5 separate regions of the Homo sapiens genome follow, and all the other regions are linked to region 3. The links are contacts of gene promoters, found by promoter capture Hi-C in blood cells and fetal thymus (Javierre and others, 2016). All regions are on one chromosome and are shown on one strand. Each heading gives the region's core, a stretch centred on a gene start or on the middle of the fragment in contact. The rest is flanking DNA. Distances are from core to core; before and after follow the strand shown. Region 1 overlaps MOB1B (MOB kinase activator 1B). Region 2 overlaps MOB1B (MOB kinase activator 1B). Region 3 holds the start of GRSF1 (G-rich RNA sequence binding factor 1). Region 4 overlaps RUFY3 (RUN and FYVE domain containing 3). Region 5 overlaps MOB1B (MOB kinase activator 1B).

Region 1 (2,700 bases), core at 50-2,549, 80 kb after region 3:
CCAAACACTGCATATTCTCACTCATAGGTGGGAATTGAACAATGAGAACACATGGACACAGGAAGGGGAACATCACACTCTGGGGACTGTTGTGGGGTGGGGGGAGCGGGGAGGGATAGCATTAGGAGATATACCTAATGCTAGATGACGAGTTAGTGGGTGCAGTGCACCAGCATGGCACATGTATACATAAGTAACAAACCTGCATATTGTGCACATGTACCCTAAAACTTAAAGTGTAATAATAATTAAAAAAAAAAAAAGACAATTTTGAAACTGAAGTTTGATTTTGGAATTCCAGATTCCCGTAAATTATTTATTTTGCCAGAATGATGACTCAGAAATTTTAAAGAAGTAAAAACCTTTTATAACCTTTTACCAAAAAAACCTCACATTCTACTGTTCTTACACACATTGTATGTAAGACTGTTTCTTTTTTTGTTGTTGTTTTGAGATGGAGTCTTGCTCTGTTGCCCAGGCTGGAGTGCAGTGGCGCTATCTCGGCTCACTGCAACCTCTGCCTCCCGGGTTCAAGTGACTCTCCTCCCTCAGGCTCCCAGGTAGCCAGGACTACAGGCGCGCACCACCATGCCAGGCTAATTTTTGTAGTTTTAGTAGAGACAGGGTTTCCCCATGTTGGCCAGGCTGGTCTGGAACTCCTGACCTCAGGTGATCAGCCCGCCTCGGCCTCCCACAGTGTTGGGATTACAGGCGTGAGCCACCACACCCAGCTGTAAAACTGTTTCTAGTAGTCTTAATTGCATGTTATAATGGCAACTCTTAGAAATTTTAATTTTGATGTAAAACCTGGTGAGTTATGTTCAATAAGGTTTGATGTATAGTCATGACTCCACATGTCCCCAGGCCTTACCTAGCTGGAAAGCAGGCAAGTTAAACAATTTTCAAAAGCCAAAGAAACAGCTTATGACCCTAAAGCAAATATTTGAACATAATTTAATTACATATTATGTTATACATAATTATACATAACATAATATGTAACCACATATTTACATTTTGAAGACATATTTTACCAATTATCTTTAAAACTATCCTTATTTCCCAGAAATTACTCAAGTCACATGAACTAGATAAAAGACATTACACTTTTCACTTTTCTGACAAAATATTTGATTTAAGCTCCTCTTCCTCTTCCTCCTCCTCCTCTTCCTCTTCCTCTCCTCCTCCTTCTCATTCTCCTTCTCCTTCTCCTTCAACAGTCTCACTCTCCGCTCACTGCACCTCTGCCTCCTGGGTTCATGTGATCTCCTGCCTCAGCCTCCCAAGTAACTGGGATTACAGGCGTGCCCCGCCATGCCTGGCTAATTTTTGTATTTTTAGTAGAGATGGGGTTTTACCATGTTGGCCAGGCTGGTCTCGTACTCCTGACCTCAGGTGATCTGCCTGCCTCGGCCTCCTAAAGTGCTAGGATTACAGGCATGAGCCACTGAACCTGGCTTCTTATTATTACAGCAATTAATTTAAAACTTTATGGAGGAGATAAACAGTGACTTTTACTTTATATTTAACTAGTTTGCACAGAGAAAGAAGCCAGATATAGACTGGTAAGAAATTCTTACCCTTTTGCCAGCATGCCAGTTTTCTGGGTTCTCTCTCTCTGAGTGATCCTAGTGACCCTGCTTGACTGTATGCAGACAAACACATTGCCATGAATTAAGAATACTCACAAATAGTTTACAGATTTTTGGGGGAAATTAGGCAGAGAAAGAGAAGTATGATTCAAATTCTATTTACAAGAATATACTCAACACAGTTAAAGTATCAGGAGGCCTAAAATCCAAAAAGTTAGCTTAAGGATGAAAAGCTGGTGTGCTCCATTAATCTCTACTGATAAAGGTAGTTTAGGAATTCCAGATAAATGGAACAAATGATGACTTGCTAGAAATGCATCAGAAACAAAATAACCATTCGCGGAACCAAGTAAAAGCCTTCCACTAGGAACTAAAAAATATCATGGTTTTTTATATATATGCATACACAAGCAAAGCCAGAGGAGAATAAACAGCAAATGAATGAAAACTAGAAGCAAAAACAAACAGGAAACCAACCCTAAATTTTCCTATTTAATTTACCCTGGAGGCTACAGTGTTACCTAGGGCCCCAGAAAACTCACATAATGAATATTTTATTCCTGATACACAATTTAATATCCTTTAGTTTACCAGTACTATTATACATTCTATGCAGTCAAGAAATCCACTTTAGGCACATGACCAGTAAGTACTCCAGTGCCAGCACTATCTATGCAAAACAGTAAACATAATGTGAAGCAATGCAGGCATGTGTGTGAAATTTGGCTCCACAGTAAATCCAGCTTCATGCTTAACTATATTAAAAAAAGAATTGCCAAACTGCTGATGGATTTCTTTCTTTCTTTTCTTCTCTCTTCTCTTCTCTCCCCTCCCCTCCCCTCCCCTCCCCTCCCCTTCCCTTTTCCTGAGATGGAGTATTGCTCTGTCACCCAGGCTGGAGTGCAGTGGTGCGATCTCAGCTCACTGCAAGCTGAGTGAGCTTGCAGTTCAAGCAATTCTCTTGCCTCAGGCTCCCCAGTAGCTGGGATTACAGGCATGTGCCGCTATGCCCAGCTAATTTTTGTATTTTTAGTAGAGATGGGGTTTCACCGTGTTGGCCAGGTTGATCTCGAACTCCTGACCTCATGATTCACCCACCTTGGCCTCC
Region 2 (2,700 bases), core at 38-2,537, 130 kb after region 3:
AAAGTAAATCTCAATGGAAATCAGAAAATATTTTGAACTGAAATTTGGTGATGAAAATACTATATATGGAAACTTGTGGGATATATTATAGCTAAAGCTGTGTTAGAGGAAATTTAGAGCCTTACATAAATACATATATTATAAAAGGAAAAATATTAAAAGTTAATGAACTAAGCATCCATCTCCAGAGGTTGGAAAAACAACAGCAAATTAAATGCAAAGAAAGTTAAAAGAGGTGAGGCCGGGTGCGGTGGTTCATGCCTGTAATCCCAGCACTTTGGGAGGCCAAGGTGGGTGGATCACCTGAGGTCAGAAGTTCGGGACCAGCCTGGCCAACATGGCGAAACCCCATCTCTACTAAAAATACAAAAATTAGCTGGGCGTGGTTGGGGCATGCCTGTATCCCAGCTACGTGGGAGGCTGAGGCAGGAAAATTGCTTGAACCCAGGAAGCAGAGCTTGTAGTGAGCTGAGATTGCACCATTGCACTCCAGCCTAGGCAACAAGAGTGAAACTCCGTCTCAAAAAAAAAAAAAAAGTTAAAAGAGGTTATCAGTAAAGAACAGAAGTTAATAAAATAGAAAAGAAACATACAATAAAGGGAATTGGGCTCGGCGTGGTAGCTCACACCTATAATCCCAACACTTTGGGAGGCCGAGGTAGGTGGATACTTGAGGTCAGGAGTTCAAGACCAGCCTGGCCAACATGGTGGAACCCCGTCTGTATTAAAAATACAAAAATTAGCCTTGTGTGGTGGCAGGTGCTTGTAATCCTACCTGCTTGGGAGGCTGAAGCAGGAGAATCACTTGAACCTGGGAGGCAGAGGTTGCCGTGAGCCAAGATTGCAGCACTGCACTCCAGCCTGGATGACAGAGCAAGACTTCATCTCAAAAAAAAAAAAAAAAAAAAAAAAGTGGTTCTTTGCAAAGTTTAAAAATTTATAACTCCTGGTAAGATTGATCAAGAAAAAAATATTTTAATATTTTAAAAATAATATTAATTTAAAATATTAATTATTTAATAATATTAGAAAGCACAAATAACCAATATCAGGGATAAAAAAGTAAATACATACCAGATCTTACATAGCATTAAAAGTTGTAAGAGAGGCCGGGCGCGGTGGCTCACGCCTGTAATCCCAGCACTTTCGGAGGCTGAGGCGGGTGGATCACGAGGTCAGGAGATCGAGAGCATCCTGGCTAACACGGCGGAACCCTGTCTCCACTAAAAATACAAAAAATTCTCTGGGCGTGGTGGCGGGCGCCTGCAGTCCCAGCTACTTGGGAGGCTGAGGCAGGAGAATGGCGTGAGCCCGGGAGGCAGAGTTTGCAGCGAGCCGAGATCACGCCACTGCACTCCAGCCTGGGCGACAGAGCGAGACTCCGTCTCAAAAAAAAAAAAAAAAAAAAAAAAAAAAGTTGTAAGAGAATGTTGTGAAGAAGTTATAAATTTATCCCAATAAATTTGAAAATTTAATTGAAATAACCTAATTCTTATAAAAATTCAACTTATCAAAGTTAACACTAGAATAAAAAATCTGAATAATCTTATAACTTAAAAAAAACTGTAATCTATTTAAAAACCTTGCCACAGTAGTATTTCCATGAAACAAGGAAGAAATAACGCCAGCCTTTGGCTCTTACAAAGAATGGAAAAAATATTAGTTTTATGAGTTCTACATGAACATTAGAAGAAAGGGAACTAGGTCATCTAACTTTTGAAATGAACATAGATGTAAAAATTCTAATAAAAGTATTAGTGAATTGAATCTAGTAACATTTTAAAAGTGTATATAATACATTATGACTAAGTTGAGTTTATTCCAGAAATACAAAGGTTAGTTTAGCATCTGAGGGGCCTCAGGTTGTGGCTCACACCTGTAATCCCAGTGCTTTGGGAGGCCAAGGTGGAAGGATTGCTTGAGGCCAGGGGGTTCAGATCAGCCTAGGCAATATAGTGAGTCCCACTTTTTTTTTTTTTTTTTGAGGCGGAGTTTTGCTCTTGTTGCCCAGGCTGGAGTGCAATGGCATGATCTCAGCTCACCACAACCTTTGCCTCCCAGGTTCAAGCGGTTCTCTTGCCTCAGCCTCCCGAGTAGCTGGGATTACAGGCATGCGCCACTGTGCCCGGCTAATTTTGTATTTTTAGTAGAGACGGGGTTTCTCCATGTTGGTCAGGCTGGTCTCGAACTCCTGACCTCAGGTGATCCACCTGCGTCAGCCTCCCAAAGTGCTGGGATTACAGGCATGAGCCACTGTGCCTGGCCGAGTCCCACTATTTATAAAAAATTTAAAAAGTTAACCAGGTGTGGTGTTGCATGCCTATAGTCCTAATTACTCAAGGAGATTGAGGTGGGAGGATTGTTTGAACCCAGGAGTTGGAGGCTGCAGTGAGCTCTGACTGCATCCCAAGCCTGGGCAATAGAGTGAGATCCTACTTCAAAAAAAAAAATAAATTAGAAAAAAAATATAAATTGGTCATTGTAATTCACTGCATTAGCCAAAATCAAGGAGAAAAAAAATCGTATCACAACAATACATGCAGAAAAACCATTTGCTAAAATTCAAAATCCATAATAAAAGGGTTATCAAGTAATAGATGAGAACTTTCTTCTGATAAAGCATACCTATTTGCAGAATAGCTATAACATTATAATAGTAAATGTTGAAATTTTTTCTTAATTTAGGAAAGAGTCAAGGAT
Region 3 (2,707 bases), core at 67-2,566:
TATGACCTAAGGAATCAGGGGCTGGGTAGTTAAAAAGTGTGCAGACACTTCCCAGATGCCACGTACCAAGAAGAGAAAGGTTCATCTACAAAGCACAAAATATTTGCAATCTAACTACACACCGACTTTTCTAAAAAAATAAAGAAAAAATGGAAAGGAAAACATTGCAAATTCATTCCTGGGACCCCAAGTTGTGTCCTCAACCCTCAACGCTCCCTCCCATTCACCCCCTCCCCCCAACAGCTAAATCTCCAAACTGCTTTCCCAGACGAGGCGACACACAGTCCTTAAAGACCTTCTGTATGAGTGGAGTTGCAGAGGTGACCTTCAGTAAACCGGGACAGCTCGTCTTTCCCTGGGGACAGGAGAGGGAACGGCGCGATGGGGACAGGCTCCTTCCCTACAAGCCAGCCCACGCAACTGTGTGCGCGCACCTTCCCAGCAGCGGCCGACCGAGAGGCGCCGAGGGCCGCCCAGGCCTAGCGCTCGGGCTGCACGGAAACTCCCAACCCTCCGGCGGGCTCGGGCCTCGCAACTTCACAACCAGCCGGCGGAAAGCAAGAAGATGCGAGGTGGGGGCGTCAGCAGCCTCACGAAACCTACCATGGGCCAGGCGGGGAACAAGGCCTCAACATTCACCCCAGCCACACTTACACTGCCCAACCGACCAGAGACTCGAGGCGAGAACAAAACAAGCAGAAGACCCGACGCCTGGGAGAGCTTCCCTTGTTCCAGGGCCCAATAGGAGCACAGGGTGGACGGGGGCGGGTGTGCGGCGAGTGTCGCGGATCCCCGGGCGTGCCCGCGAGGCGCACACGGAGGGACGGAGGGGCGCGGGGGCGCGTGCACGCGGCCCGGGAGGGATCTCGCGCCAGGTCCCTCACGGCGCCCACGTACCTGGCTGTAGCTGCGCGTCGGGACGGCGGCCGCCGCCGCCAGCGACTGCGGCAGCAGAGAGGCACGGAGGGCAGAGTAGGACGCGGCGGCCGCGGCCGCGGCAGAGGTGGCCACAGCGGGAGGCCCCGCCAGCCTCCCGGGAGGCACAGGCCCGGTCTGGAGGCCACGCGTCTGGGAGGCAGCGGCCGCGGCGGCCCCGAGCAGCAGCAGCAGGCGGCGGCGGCCCGAGACGCCCGACGGGATAGAGCCAGCGGCGGAGTAGAAGGGCAGGCAGGCGGCGCCGGTGCGCCGGCAGCTGCTGCAGTTACAGCCGCAGCCCCGGAGCAGCGCCCCGAGTACCCAGCGCGTGCCGGCCATGGACTCCGGAGGCGGCGCAGGGCCTGAAGGCAGCTGCTCCAGCAGCGATGGTGGAACGGAAGTGGAATCCAGGGCCGGTTGGGGGTGGGGTGTGCCTGGCACATGCGCCGCGGGCACTGGGTGGGGGGCCTCCGAGAGTCGGAAGGAGGTGGAGGAGAGCGCGACGCTCCGCCCAGTCTCCGCCCTTGGGCGGGGCTGCCCATGGTTTGGGCGGGGCTGCCCATGGTTTGGGCGGGGCTGCCCATGGTTTGGGCGGGGCTGCCCATGGTTTGGGCGGGGCTGCCCATGGTTTGGGCGGGGCTGCCCATGGTTTGGGCGGGGCTGCCCATGGTTTGGGCGGGGCTGCCCATGGTTTGGGCGGGGCTGCCCATGGTTTGGGCGGGGCTGCCCATGGTTTGGGCGGGGCTGCCCATGGTTTGGGCGGGGCCCGGGGAAGTGGGTGCAATCGAACTGCTCTTTTTTCAGGCGGTGGAAACTGAGGCCCAAAGTAAGTGAGGCTAGGGGCCTGGCGCAGTGACTCATTCGTAGTGACTCATTCTTGTAATCCTAGCACTTTGGCAGGCAGAGGCGGGTGGACTGCCTGAGGTCAGGAGTTCGAGACCAACCTAGGCAACACGGTGAAATCCCGTCTCTACTAAAATACAAAAAATTAGGTCGGACGCGGTGGCTCCCGCCTGTAATCCCAGCACTTTAGTAGGCCGAGGTAGGGCGGATCACCTGAGGTCAGCAGTTCAAGACCAGCCTGGCCAACATGGTGAAACTGTGTCTCTACTAAAAACACAAAAATTAGCCGGGTGTGGTGACGGGTGCCCGTAATCCCAGCTACTCAGGAGGCTGAGGCAGGAGAATCGCTTGAACCCAGGAGGCGGAGGTTGCAGTGAGCCAAGATCGTGCCACCGCACTGCAGCCTGGGCGACAGAGTGAGACGCCATCTCCAAACAAACAAACAAAAAAATTAGGTTAGGGCCATCCTGCTCTGGGTAGGGCCGAGAGCTGTAGCACAAGTCTGTGCTGCCCTGCGCTGTGCCACCGAAACCCGTGGTGTGAGTGGCTAAAGAACCCTTTCTGAAAGGAATTGTGATACCTTGGTTATAAAAAAATCGTTGGGATAATATCAGAGATTTGGTACCCCCCGAATTTGAGGTATGTGAGGAAGGAGAACTTCGTTGTTTTAAAATGAAATATAGGCCTGGCGTGGTGGCTCATGCCTATAATCCCAGCGCTTTGGGAGGCTGAAGTGAGAGGATCACTGGAGCCCAAGAGTTCCAGACCAGCCTGGGCAACATAGGGAGACCCCGTCTATACAAAAAATAAATAAAGCTGGGTGTGATGGCGTGGGCCTGTAGTCCCAGCTACTTGGGAGGCCGATTGCTTCAGCCCAGAAGGTAGAGGCTGTGGTAAGCTATGATTGCCACCACTGAACTCCAGCCTGGGTGACAGAGTGAAACCCTGT
Region 4 (2,700 bases), core at 108-2,607, 80 kb before region 3:
TTTAATCCCAGCACTTCGGGAGGCCAACATGGGAGGATGGCTTGAGGCCAGGAGTTCAAGACCAGTTTGAGCAACATAGCAAGACTAAATAGCCATACTTTTGTATACTATTCAGCACAAAAATGTTAATAATAAGAATTAAATAATACTCATTTTAGCTTTTGTGTTCATTTACAATGAGCAATATATTCTTTTTAAAATTTTTGATGTGTAATAATTATACATATTTAGGGATACAGACTGACATTTTGGCTCATGTATACAATGTAATGATCAAATCAGGGTAATTAGCATATCTCTTGCCTCAAACACTTATTTATTAATTTTGGGAATATTCAAAATCCTCTCTTCTAGCTATTTGAAAATATAAAAAAAAAAAAATTATTGCCAGGCGTGGTGGCTCACACCTGTAATCCCAGCACTTGTGGGAGGCCGAGGCAGGTAGATCACGAGGTCAGGAGATCAAGACCATCCTGGTTAACACAGTGGAACCCCATCTCTACTAAAAATACAAAAAATTAGCCCAGCGTGGTGTGGGTGCCTGTAGTCCCAGCTACTCGGGAGGCCGAGGCAGGAGAATGACATGAACCCGGGAGGCGGAGCTTGCAGTGAGCCGAGATCGTGCCACTGCACTCCAGCCTGGGCGACAGCAAGACTCTGTCTCAAAAAAAAAAAAGAAAATTATTGACTATAGTCACCATACAATGCTACAGAACACTAGAACTTACTCATCTTATCTAGTTGTAGCTTTGCATCTGTTAACCAACCTCTCCCTATCTTCCCCTCCTCCATACTCTTTTCATTTTCTAATAATCACAATTCTACTCTCTACTTCTATGAGCTCAACTTTTTTAGCTTCCACATATGAGTGAGAACATGTGGTATTTATCTTTCTGTCCCAGACTTATTTCACTTAACATAATGTCCTTTAGGCTCATCCATGTTGCCATGAATCATAGGATTTCATTCTTTTTATGGCTGAATTTGTGTGTGTGTGTGTATGTGTGTGTGTGTGTGTGTGTGTGTGTGTATACCACATTTCTTTATTCATGTTGATGACACTTAGGTTGATTTCATATCTTGGTTATTGTGAATAGTGCTGAATTAAACATGGGAATGCAGCTATCTCTTTGTTATATCGATTTCCTTTCCTTTGGATAAATATCTGGTAGTGGGATTGCTGAATCATATGGTAGTTCTACTTTTAGTTTTTTGAGGAACCTCCGTACAGTTTTCCATAAAGGCTATACTAATTGACATTCCCACCAACAGTGTATAAGAATTCCCTTTTTTCTGCATCCACACCAGCATTTTTTATTTTTTGTCTTGTTAGTAATAGCCATTCTGAGTGAATTGTTACTTTTAAGCTCTTATCTCTAACAATCAAATTACTATAACAGATTTTTGTTTCACTTTCATTTGTTTAGATTAGTAGTTCTCAATGTGGAAGGACCTGATTTAATCTCCCAAAGAATATTTGGCAGTGTCTGGAGACATTTTTGGTTGTCTTAACCCACCAAAAACAGTTGTCAGTGCTACTGACATCTAGTGTTACCCACTACTGGGTTGCTGTGAAAATTAGTTTTCAGAACAGAGCCCCATAAAAATGAATTATCTAGCTTAAAATGTCAACAGTGCCAAGGTTGAGAGTAGTGTTTTTTAAAGAATGGGTAGGTTGTTTATGTTTGATGGAAGTTAGTTTAAATAGATTGTAGCACCTTACTAATGGAGTCCATGATATCAGAAATTTAATTCCCATAGACGCTAGTTAACCTGTCTGTAGTTCATGCACTCCAGACCTCAGCCAGATGTCTTAAACATTTCTGCTGCAGATTATAAGAAGAACAAGATGAGAAAATGTAGATGGGTTGGTATAAATCTATCACTACTTCTGGAAAAATGTCTCAATATGATATTTTTTACTTAACCCAAGTCTATCTCTCACCACATGACTAGTTCTCACTACGTTGGAATCAGCTTGTAAACTTTGACTAGCAGCATTGTTTAATCTTGTTATAAGTTCCTGAATTAATGGTCTACAGGCTTGAGGCAGAGTGAATGCCTCAAAGTTATGGGCAGGCAGTTATCTAGTACCAACCATAGTCTCCTGCCATCTATTGGGAGGTGTCAGGTGGGAAGGCTAGTAGCCCTCTACACATATTCATACCCACACCCCAGCTCTATTTTTTTTTTTTGAGTAATTATAGGAGGTCAGAAACACTAGAATGTACATACATGCTGGTAATAAATGGAAATTAATATCTGATAGTTTTCTTCATGGCTGTCTTTCAGGGCATAGTTTTCCATGTATTTTGCTGTCCTCTTGTGAGAATACTACCCTTGACAAGTTGATCTACATTTAAGCTATGGCCACATTTAAACTATGGCCCTAAAACATTTGTTGTTATGCAAGAAAGAATTAATGGTGATATATACCAATTCTGACTCTCACATAAAGTGTTTCTCCAAAAGTAACCTCAGACAACATAACAACAAACCAAGATTTATATAGTTGGAATTGCAAATCCGTAAGTCCTTAAACTTAATGAGAAGATTAATTTGGAATTTGACCATTTGACTCTGCTCATTTAACTTTGAAAGCAGATATAAATAAAAACCTTGTATGAAGAAAATTGCTTGGGATAATTTGCATTAAACAGTCTGTTTTTTGCTAAGTGGCTTATTTGTATTATGGAAGCA
Region 5 (2,700 bases), core at 97-2,596, 100 kb after region 3:
GTGGTAATATTAAAGTGGTCTATTAAAGTGGAATTGCCATTTAATATTCTAGTGGTCTATTAAATATTTAATATTTAATATTTAATATTCTAGTGGTCTATTAAAGTGGAATTGCCATTTAATAAGTAAAGTTATTTCCTAGTACACTTTATCAGTTTTTATAGGCATTAGCATGGATTTCTTTATTTTTTTAAGAATGAATTTAATGCATTGAATTTCTCATAAATGCCATGGTTTTGAACTTTAACATAAATTATTTTATAAATATGATTAAAGCTTTCTGCTAGTCACTGTTTAATAGAAAAAGAATAAACCTAAACTGTAGTTTTTAATTGAAATAAAACTTGTACCTATCCTGAATGTATGTGTGTTTTATCTAAAAGATATGTCTATAGGATTAGAAATTAAATGTGAAGCTCATAGACATTTAAAGAGAAACTGATGTTTTTATGATAACCTCAGGGAAAAGATACAGACTAGGGCAGGATTTCTGTATCTGGGTTTATGAACAGGTTTTAGCCCCTCCCTGAATTCCTGTATGCAAAATATTGTGTTTTTTGTCTGTAGAGAGAAGGTTCATATTGTCGGATTATGAAAGACTCAAAATAAAGAACTGGAGGCAAAGAAGTAAGCAAAGAAAAAATTATTATATGAATGTTTAAGAGCATTGTGGCAGTATTTCCCTTTAATGTAGCTCAGAAATATATCTCAGTGGGTTCGGGGAGTTCATTGCTAAGTTATTTTTATTTTATCGAGATATGATTTACAAAACATGAAGTGCTCAGAACTTAAGTGTATAGTTAAAAGAGTGTATGCTTTTTGTAAACCACACTGCTTTTAAAACCTGAAACATTTCTGTCACCCTAGAAAGTACTTTACCTTTTAAAAATAAAACCATAGGGTCATTTCTGATGGTTTTTTTGACATAATATTGTATAAGCATACATTCTCATTTCACATAGTTCTAGAGATTCCATTAGCTAAATGGGGTGGTTCAGCTTTTATGGAAGAGGAACAAGTAGTTTACTAGTTCTGCTTTTTGCACTTGGTGCTAGTTTTGCCCATTGAACAGCACAGCTGTTATAACTGTGATGATCTTTGAGGTGAGCAAAGAACTGGGATGACATCCAGTATCTCAACACCTGGATCTTTAGCAAGATTAGCTCACATCATTTCTTATAGTTAATCATGTTTTCCACTTACCCCACAATGATGAATAATCATCTGACATAAAATAGTGAAAGAGCTTTGATAAACTTTTCTAAAGACAGTAGTTCAAGGTATAGTAACTTTTTAAAAAAAATCAACAATCATTGATCATTTACTGCATTAGAAGGTAGCTTCTGAAAAAATACCCAAGTGAATAAGACATATGGGACCTGCTTCTAAATTGTCCATGGTAATAGAAGAGACAGGAGTTAACGCACACTTCTCATAGCTTGGTAAATATAGTAGTAGAAGACTATACGTGTACCTAAATGGGTTTATATATTGGTAAATTAGAGAATCAGTTATATCAAGCTATAACTTCTGATTTTCCTTCTGTAAGTAGCATTAATAAGCCTTCAAGTGGGTAGAGATCTAGATTTTTGGAGAAAATCTTTTTCAATCAAAATAAAAAAAAACAAAACATTTCCCTTTTTGAGAAAATGAAAAAATATATAAATACAAAATTTGATGTCAAAATGAATATTTAGAATGAAAAAACACAGATCACAATTTTAATAACACAAGGTTAGTTAACATCACAAACTATAGAAAAATAACATTTTTATGGCAACTGCTAGATATCTGTAATACTTTTTTTTTTTGAGACGGAGTCTTGCTCTGTCACCTAGTTGCAATCTTGGCTCATTTCAACCTCCACCTTTCAGGTTCAAGTGATTCTCCTGCCCTAGCCTCCTGAGTAGCTAGGATTATAGGCACATGCCACCATGCCCGGCTAATTTTTGTATTTTTAGTGAAGACTGGGTTTCACCATGCTGGCCAGGCTGGTCTCAAACTCCTGACCTCAGGTGATCCTCGCGCCTTGGCCTCCCAAAGTGCTGGGTTTATAGGCGTGAGCCGCTGCACCCGGCCTCTAATACTTTTTTATTTAGATTTTTTTGACTGTATACTTTTTGACCACTTCTTCATATGTCAACAGTGTACTTTTTTCTCTACCATGACTGATCAAATTGTGTTTATTATTGATAGTTTAGAAAAGTTTGAGATTGACAACTCGTTTTATTGGTAGTGTCTGTAATATTTTAAGATTGTTGTCAAATTTGGGGCAGCTCCTTCTGTTAGGCTGTTCTTGCATTGCTATAAGGAAATACCTGAGACTGGGTAATTTATAAGAAAAGAGGTTTAATTGGCTCAGGTTCTGCAGGCTGTACAGGAAGCATCGTGGCATCAGCTTCTGGGGAGGCCTCAGGAAGCTTACAATCATGGCAGAAGGCAAAAGGGAGAGCAGGTACGTCACATGGCAAAAGTAGGAGCAAGACAGTATGAGACAGAGGAAGTAGAGAGGAGAGAGAGAAAGGGGGAGAGTAGGGGATGAGATGCCACAGACTTTTAAATGACCAGATCTCGAGAACTCATTCACTATCACATAGACATCACCAAGCCATGAAGGACCCACCCCCATGATCCAAACACCTACCAGCATTGGGGATTACAATTCAACATGAGATTTGGGTGGGGACAAATATCCAAACT

The links. Contacts are between HindIII fragments. The CHiCAGO score rates a contact against its expected background, and 5 or more counts as called.
Region 1: a fragment that was not itself captured here is called in contact with the fragment with the promoter of GRSF1 in region 3 in 4 of 17 cell types (erythroblasts, total B cells, M0 macrophages and 1 more); the score reaches 6.6 in erythroblasts.
Region 2: a contact is called between a fragment that was not itself captured here and the fragment with the promoter of GRSF1 in region 3, in 5 of 17 cell types (fetal thymus, M2 macrophages, M0 macrophages and 2 more). The highest score is 10.1, in fetal thymus.
Region 4: a contact is called between a fragment that was not itself captured here and the fragment with the promoter of GRSF1 in region 3, in 2 of 17 cell types (total B cells and naive B cells). The highest score is 8.4, in total B cells.
Region 5: a fragment that was not itself captured here is called in contact with the fragment with the promoter of GRSF1 in region 3 in 7 of 17 cell types (M2 macrophages, total B cells, M0 macrophages and 4 more); the score reaches 8.7 in M2 macrophages.

What each region holds. Positions count from the first base shown.
Region 1 is chr4:70,919,066-70,921,765 of GRCh38, forward strand. All of the region lies in intron 1 of MOB1B (MOB kinase activator 1B), which reads left to right. Among named protein-coding and RNA genes, the nearest start is that of MOB1B, 18 kb to the left of the region's middle. The HindIII fragment of the contact is 5,112 bases long and covers 1-2,700 here.
Region 2 is chr4:70,964,409-70,967,108 of GRCh38, forward strand. The region is part of intron 2 of MOB1B (MOB kinase activator 1B); the gene reads left to right. Among named protein-coding and RNA genes, the nearest start is that of DCK, 28 kb to the right of the region's middle. The HindIII fragment of the contact is 9,182 bases long and covers 1-2,700 here.
Region 3 is chr4:70,838,574-70,841,280 of GRCh38, forward strand. It overlaps GRSF1 (G-rich RNA sequence binding factor 1), which reads right to left and starts at 1,317. Exons shown (of 10, transcript NM_002092.4): 1 at 898-1,317. The coding sequence starts at 1,254. LOC124900710 (a long non-coding RNA gene) reads left to right here and starts at 419. Exons shown (of 3, transcript XR_007058131.1): 1 at 419-572. RefSeq lists enhancers at 20-674, 675-1,328 and silencers at 725-1,274, 1,335-1,584. The HindIII fragment of the contact is 9,073 bases long and covers 1-2,707 here.
Region 4 is chr4:70,758,372-70,761,071 of GRCh38, forward strand. The region is part of intron 1 of RUFY3 (RUN and FYVE domain containing 3); the gene reads left to right. Among named protein-coding and RNA genes, the nearest start is that of RUFY3, 38 kb to the left of the region's middle. The HindIII fragment of the contact is 3,550 bases long and covers 1-2,700 here.
Region 5 is chr4:70,942,256-70,944,955 of GRCh38, forward strand. The region is part of intron 1 of MOB1B (MOB kinase activator 1B); the gene reads left to right. Among named protein-coding and RNA genes, the nearest start is that of MOB1B, 41 kb to the left of the region's middle. The HindIII fragment of the contact is 2,144 bases long and covers 275-2,418 here.